2 separate regions of the Homo sapiens genome follow, and region 1 is linked to region 2. Evidence: promoter capture Hi-C in 16 types of primary human blood cells and fetal thymus (Javierre and others, 2016). All regions are on one chromosome and are shown on one strand. Each heading gives the region's core, a stretch centred on a gene start or on the middle of the fragment in contact. The rest is flanking DNA. Distances are from core to core; before and after follow the strand shown.

Region 1 (3,754 bases), core at 997-3,496, 270 kb before region 2:
TGGAACACATTGCTCCAGGCCTCCGAGCCTCAGTTTCCTCGTTTGCAAAATGGGGGCGATAACAGAGCGTCCTCAAAGGGGATAAGACGGAAGAAGTTGGCTCATATCAGGGCTCATAATTGTTGCCAAGTATTAACAGGTAACCACAATCACACTCCACAAAGCTTCCCTTTTAGTGTCAGTGAAATTAATTTAAAAGAAGTTTCCGAAAGTCAAGTGTGTGTGTGTGAATCCTGAGATAAGTCAGGTAAGGGGGGAAATGACCACCTCACGGCCCCAGGCTGGTGAGGAAGTCCTAGCCACGGAGGCGGTGCTGCAGGACCTGGCCTGGTGGCATAGCGTGGCGGGCGGGTTCACCGTGGAGAGACGAAGGAGGTGCTGCGGCTTGTGAGAAAAGGCCCACAACCCCATGCAGTTATTTATGAAATGGTTTTCCTTCCTCCAGGGCTTGGGGCTCCTGCCCACTCGTATCAGGTCCCGGGACCCCCCCGGTGGTGTCCTCAGGGCTCCCGCCGTCCCAGGCCGCCCTCCACTTCTGGAAGCAGACACGAGGCCACGAGACCCACTGCTTTTGGGTATCTGCTTTCATTCCTGACACTGCCCTTTAAGAGAAAAAAGTACCCACATTGTTCCCAGATGGAGAGGGTCCCTCCCAGAGGGTGAGGCACTGCCACAGGGGCTCACGGCCCTGCCAGGAGTGGAAGGTGCACACCCAGAAGTATTTCTCCTGTGAAGGAAGGGGGCTGAGCTTCGCTGCAGACCTGGCCTCAGGTGTGGATGAGCTTCGCTGCAGACCTGGCCTCAGGTGCGGAGTCTGCGGGAGCAGCATTTCCAGGCAGACCTGACAGAAGGTGCCTTTGAGAGGTGGTGAGCTCCGTGTTACAGGAGGCTTGTGAGCACAGGTAGCCCATCTTCTGGTGATGATGCTGGAGAAGCAATTCAAATGTCAGAAGCAGGACTGGACTCTGTTTCCAAAACTCACGTCTGGATTCTACCCCCTGAAAACATTATTTACACAATGTTTTTCCTTTAAACAATTCACACATTTGATTAAAAGGGTAAGTTTATTTTTTAAAAAGTCAGTGTCAATTACCACAAAGAGGTCACCATAAAAATAGATAAAAAGAAACAAAATGGCATTAAATTCTAGCCAAATATTGCTGCCTGTGGAGGGCTCCCGGCCTGAGACCCGCCTCAGACCCCACCAGGCATTCTTTGGGATTCCTGCATAGGCACCATTGGAAAGGTAAATCCAGAGCAAACATTTCAGGTACATTCGTGCAAAATGCAGGCCCTCAGTCCTGTCCTCAAAGGCAAATGCTGGTGCCCAGGCTCCTCAAGAGGCCCCTAGGAGCACCAGGAGGCCTTGACCCAGGTGAAGGGTCCTGCCGCAGGCCATCAAGGGGGTCTGCAGGTCTGGCCCAACTCCAGGCCCTGCGTGGTGGGGTCCATCTGCACCAGCTTTCGGGAGCCGACTGTGTCCTTACTCTTGCCCTAGAGGACTCGGGGGTCAGCTACAGAGCACAGCAGTGTCTTGGAACAAGGGCAGCCTGATTATGTGCCCTGGAACATTCTGAACTCAATAAGTTCTATCCCAGCAGGGCTTTTTTTCTTTCTTTTCTTTTTTTTTTTTCTTTTTTGAGAGGAAATAATTAAAAGAAAAAGAAAGCGAGAACCCCCTGGCTCCCCTGTGGCCTTGCAGGGTCGTACTGCTGCCTGTCCGGGCGGCTTCAGGAGGCTCGGAACAGATGCTGCACATTTGTGGGCCACTTACTGTTCTCTGACATCATCTTTAGAGGCACCTCAAAGAGCTGAAATGTGACAGCCTGTATTTCCACCTCCCTCTCTCTTTATGGACATTGTCACTTGGAGGAAAATCGATCTAAAGATCAGAAGAGAAGTGTAGAGAGAGAAGAGAGAGAAACGCTGTCAGGTCAAGGGGCAGGTTAATGGCCAACCCAGAAACAGCGTGGGATCCCGGTGCCTCTGCCTGGAGGGTCCAGCCTGGAACACACATCATTCCTAGCTTTGACCAGGAATGGTATCCAAAAAATGACCTCACTTAGCTATTAGTACTTGATTGGGATAATACTTAAAATCCTGCTAATATTTCTGTGGTTGCTTCCATTCTGTAGTCATAGTTCATTTCTATTTTCTATGAATTTGGCGTATGTCTTAGCCAACTCATTTGAAACTGCCTGTCCTTCCTTGACTTATAAAAAAATGGCCATTTCAGCTTCGTGATAATGGGCAAGTCTCAGAAATGATGAAAACATCATTTAATTGTTTCATTATTTCAAAGTCTCAGGCTGTGGCCATGTGGTGGAGGCTCTAGAGAAAGTTTCTAAAAAATATTTTAAAAGTTACGACTGCACTGTTTTGCATGAGAAAGAGGATTTTGCTAAAGATTGAAGGCGATCGGGCTGCAGGCGAAATGTGGCTTGAAGTCCCCAGCTCCAGAGTGGCACGTTTCAGTCTGTTAAATGCTGTGTTCAGGTGAGGAGTTAGGATCATGGTACAACCCAGATGTGGGCTGGCGGCTGGCACACAGCTTAGCAAAGAAGAGACGCACAAGGCCAGAGTGGCCTTAGGAAAAACTCAGCCTGGAGTTGTCCAAATGTCCGCGATGGAGGAGTTTCATGGGGGAATTAAGATTGTCAGGTTAGGGAAGGGCACAGGTAGCTGGGAGGCTCTTTGGTAGCAAAATTCCATAGAAGATAAAAAGCATGTTCTCTCTTGGAAATCATCAGTCCATCCTGTCGGAGCCCCTTTGGAGCAGGGTGTGGCTGGAGGGCCTGGCTTGCTGGCCACGCCTCAGTCACAGCATTGGCTTTCCTGCGCTTCTGCTTCCTGCTCTTCCCGGTGATCTGCGTCCTGCGGGGCGCACAGCAAGCCCTCCGTGGGACGAAGATCTTCGTCTTCCATCCACGCTGCTTTGCTCACCTGCGACATGACCTGAGGCTCTGGCCCTGCTGAGCTGGGCCCTTGGCCAGTGCTGTACAAACGCCATCCACCATCTGGTGACAGCAGCCTAGCAATTGACCAACAGAGGCCTCCCACTGTCCTCCCTCCTGCCGCCCTCCCTCTGCATCTCCCAGAGCAGGACGACTCCAGGGAGACAGACTCAATTCAATCTTTTTCTGTTTCAGAGAATCTGTCACCATTAAAAGCAGCTACCAGGGAATCTGATTCCATTGCACCAGGTCTCAGGTCTCAGGTCTCAGGCGTTCTTCCAAAATGCTGGTGGATGGTGGGCTCTCGCCCTGGGATTATAGATGCCCAGATAAACCATATGTAAATAACACTGCATTTAACCCGCCGACAAAGGGTGGCCTTCTTGACGGTGGTGAAGGAAGTTTTGACCCAGGAGAACAGAGGTCGTCATTCACAAGCACTAGGGTCCGGTGAAAGCACAGGCTTCAGCGTCTGGACAGGCAGCTACATGACGGTATCATGTTCTCTTTAGAAGCCACCAACTGATTCCTGTGTGTTCAGAGCCTGCTGTTAGAGATTAGGTGTGGGGTAGAAAAAATTGGAATCTGGACTTCCCTGCCTGGCGAGATGGCCCTGAGCTCTGAGACATGACCTGAGGACACCTGGAGTGCCCTGAGTTCCAGGGGACACATAGCAGCCAAGTGGGGAAGAGGCCACTGAATGCCGGTGGCTCCGTGGCAAAGGCACATGGAGCTGTAGGAAGAGACATGCTGGGGCCCCCAGCACCTGGAGAGCAGCAGCCCTGTCCACACCTGGGGCC
Region 2 (3,644 bases), core at 313-2,812:
AGCCCAGAGCCAGAGCACACTGCCTGGGGCCAAGCCCCCACCTGGGGACCCGCTACTGCCCAGAGGCCACTCTCTGCCTCACACGGGATCTAAAGCAGCTCAGAGCCGGACTCTGCGCCTGGACTGCAGATTCCTTGATGTCTCCGCCCCCTCTCCAGCCAGCCCCTCCCCCACTTGGAGCTTCTCCTGCCAAGGGGAGCCGCCTCCTCTCCCCCCTCCCCCAGGTGGGAGAACTAATAGTGAAGTTATGGAAGAATTGCCGGGCCGGAAAGTAGGAGGAGGGAGAGAGGGTCCCATCGCCCTCCCGACTCCGTAGAGAAAGGGCCATACACCCTCTTGGGATTTGAGATTTGCAGGAGGCCAGGGCGCCAGGAAGGTGTGCAAGGAGGTGCACCCTCCAGGGACAGCTGCTAGCTCAGAACCCCCACCAGAACCGGCTGGCCAGTGCCCCACAAACCCACCCAGCCCCCCGGGACTGTCCAGGGAACCCAGCGAGAGATGAGCCCCACAGCCCATCTGGGACCATGGCCCGCCCAGCTGGCCTGGCTCAGGGATGGGGGTTTGCTGCCAGCTCGGCAGCTGCAGCCCCACCCCGCCGCCACCCCCTCGGGGCTTCCCTGGAGGCAGATTTGGCCCCGGAGCCCAAGGGAAGTAGGAGACCCAGGGCCGCAGCCACCCAAAGGCAGACGAAGACCTGATCTCGGCCTCTAGGTCCTGTGCTGTTTGCCAGGCGTCCTCGAGCCGCCGATCGTGGCAGGAACGCGTGCGCGGCTGTGCAGCGGGTTGGAGGCCAGGCCGAGAGAGCTGGTGGAGTCCACCGGGCCCCGGAGCACAGGTGCTTCCAGGCACCCAGCAGGTGCTCAGCAGCTGTGACCAGAGCCCCCGACCTCCTTAAGAGCCAATTTGGCGGCTGTGGGGCCATGAGCACCGCCCCCGTCCTCTAAAGGGGGCTGCAGCTGCAGGCCAGTCCCTCCTGCCCCTATTTCCCTATCTGAGAGTATTTTTAAGCCCTGCTGGGGCAGGCGGGAGCCAGGCCGAGTTGAACCTGACCTGGCTGCCCCAGGAAGCAGGGGGTTCCCACCTAGGCTGCCCCGTTCCTCTGCAGATGGTCATTCGCGGGTGCAGAGGGCACCTTCCCGCAGCCAGCAGGACGGACGCTGTTGGGGGAGGAGCGGGGGCAGCCGAGTGGTGCACCCAAGTTAGGGGAACAAAGAGTGGGCCCCTGGGCTGGGAGGAGCTGGTGGGCGCTCTGGGGGCCAGGGCGTCGTGGGGAGCGCTAGGGTCCCACCCGGGACCCGGAGCTACGACCTGGGCTGGGGGCCCGGCGGCGCCGTCGTCCCACGGCCTGGCCCGAGGCCAGCAGGTGCCCCTTCCGGGAGGCGGCCGGGCCGGGGTCCGAAGGGTTAAGGCCGCCCGGCCGCCCCTCCCCCTCCTCTCTCCTTCCCCCCCCCACCCCGCCTCCCCGGACCTCTCCCCGGGGCTCGGGGCTCGGGCGCTCGGGCGGGCCGGGGCGGGGCCTGACGTCCGCGGGCGGAGCGAGCCCTGCCGGCCGCCTGGCTTCAGACCCGCCGGGCTCCCGCCGCGCGCGCTGTCCCTGGAGCTCGGGGACGCGGCCCGGAGCCGGGAAGATGGCGAAGCGGCTCTGCGCGGGGAGCGCACTGTGTGTTCGCGGCCCCCGGGGCCCCGCGCCGCTGCTGCTGGTCGGGCTGGCGCTGCTGGGCGCGGCGCGGGCGCGGGAGGAGGCGGGCGGCGGCTTCAGCCTGCACCCGCCCTACTTCAACCTGGCCGAGGGCGCCCGCATCGCCGCCTCCGCGACCTGCGGAGAGGAGGCCCCGGCGCGCGGCTCCCCGCGCCCCACCGAGGACCTTTACTGCAAGCTGGTAGGGGGCCCCGTGGCCGGCGGCGACCCCAACCAGACCATCCGGGTGAGCGCAGGGGCGGGCCGTGGGGCTTCCTCCCGGGGCACTCGGACCCGGAACACCGGCCCGACCCCAGGGGGAGCGCCGTGGCCCGGGGCGAGTCCAGGTGCGGACTCTCTGGTTCCGCATTTTGGGGGCCCAAGAAGGCACCCCGACCCGGCCGCTCCGTCTCGGCCGGGAAACTTCGCGTCCCTCCGGGAAGGCGGAATTAAAGTCCCCGGCATGGACCCGGGGGCGGCTGGGCGCCGGTCCAGTTCGACTGCGGTGACCGGGGCGGGAGGGGGGCCGGGCCCAGTCCCTGGCGGCCCCAAGTCCGGGATCCCGGGGAGGGCGGGACTTGGCCTCCGCCGCCTGCTGCCGGTGGGGAGGGGGCGCAGCTCCGCCCTACCCGGGACAGGCTGGAACCTGTTGGCCTCTGGATGGGGTGGGAGGGGCCAGCCACCTGAGGCTCCCACTAGCCCCTCTCGGAGGAGTCTAGGGACTCGAGGAGACCTCCAAAGTAGGGGAGGGCCAGCTGCGAAGTTTTGACTGGGGCTGGGAACACGTGGCTCCCAGGAGGGGCAGCATCTCTGCCCAGCAGGTGGTAGGGTCCGGGGGCTTCAGTCTCCCTGGGAGATGTGGGTTCAGGCCCTGAAGACCCCCTGGGGTGCATGTCCCCTCCCCAACAAGCCTTAAACCTGTAGGCGGGTTCTGTTGGTGGACTCCATGCATGGACACCTCACCTGAAAACCAAGGCTCTTGGGGCCCTGTAGACTTAGGTTGGGCCTGGGGTCAGCCTTGGGTGAGGAGCAGCAAAGTCAGCTCCAACGGCTCCCAACCGGCCGCTCTAGGCCCATTCCCCACCTCAGCCCCACCTTAGGGAGAGTCTAGGGGCCCTGAGGGCCTGTGTAACCTGAGCTGTCTCCTCCCTGGTACCTCTGCCTTCCCGGAAGGAGAGGCTGGGGCAGGGGCGAGTAGCTGGAGATTTGCTGGGTGGGGGCAGAGGGCCCTGGAGCAAGACGTTATGGGGATGAATGGAGGAGCCTGGGCTGGGCCCGCCCCCTCTGCCTGCCCCACCCCCTTGGCCCTGGTGGAGGGGGAAGGAGCCTCCCCAGGCTTCTGGGCTCACCGTTCTCTCCTTAAGCCCAGCACAGTCCTCTGAGATAGGAGGTCTCAAGCCCACACTTCAGATGGGGGATCTGAGCCCTGGAAAGCTGCTGACACCTGCTTGGAGCCCCCCAGCCAGAACAGGGTCCAGCGGGGGTTAGCTGTGGGAACCTGGGTGCCTCCTGGCTGCCCCCTTATCTGGTCAACTCAGAGGGGCCGGGTCTCAGGACGGAGGGCCTGTGACTGTCTCCTTACCTGCTGCCACACCTCACCACAGAGGGCCTGGCTGAGTGTCCCCAGCTGAGATTTTGCCGTTCTGGCAGGGGAGGCTCCAGGTGCCCTGTGAACCTCAGACCACCCCCCCACAGCCTGCCCATGCTGCGTGGCTGGGGGCCACAGGCCCCCTCTCAGATCTGTCTCCTCTGTGGGGGCTTATTACCCCCGTCTCGTGAGTAAAGGGCCAGCCTGTAGTCAACGCCCCTCTCCTCTGCCTCAGCTGTGTGGCTTCCCTCTGTCAGCCTCAAGCTGTCTTTAAAATGGGCACAGCGTGCTGGCCCCCCTCACCTGAGACTGTGAGCTTGGCCCGAGGAGCCTGGGAAGTGGCCACAGTTTCAGTGGCAGCTGTGGGCTGTGGTGCTC

The links. The method cuts DNA at HindIII sites, captures the fragments that hold promoters and counts their contacts. A CHiCAGO score of 5 or more calls a contact.
Region 1: a contact is called between a fragment that was not itself captured here and the fragment with the promoter of LAMA5 in region 2, in 5 of 17 cell types (erythroblasts, M1 macrophages, endothelial precursors and 2 more). The highest score is 7.8, in erythroblasts.

The regions. Positions count from the first base shown.
Region 1 is chr20:62,638,038-62,641,791 of GRCh38, reverse strand. It overlaps LOC124904949 (a long non-coding RNA gene), which reads left to right. Exons shown (of 2, transcript XR_007067711.1): 1 at 1-139; 2 at 446-3,754. Among named protein-coding and RNA genes, the nearest start is that of SLCO4A1, 2.6 kb to the left of the region's middle. The HindIII fragment of the contact is 4,159 bases long and covers 167-3,754 here.
Region 2 is chr20:62,365,230-62,368,873 of GRCh38, reverse strand. It overlaps LAMA5 (laminin subunit alpha 5), which reads left to right and starts at 1,562. Exons shown (of 80, transcript NM_005560.6): 1 at 1,562-1,925. The coding sequence starts at 1,629. RefSeq lists a silencer at 1,439-1,878 and enhancers at 2,058-2,757, 3,456-3,644. The HindIII fragment of the contact is 18,996 bases long and covers 1-3,644 here.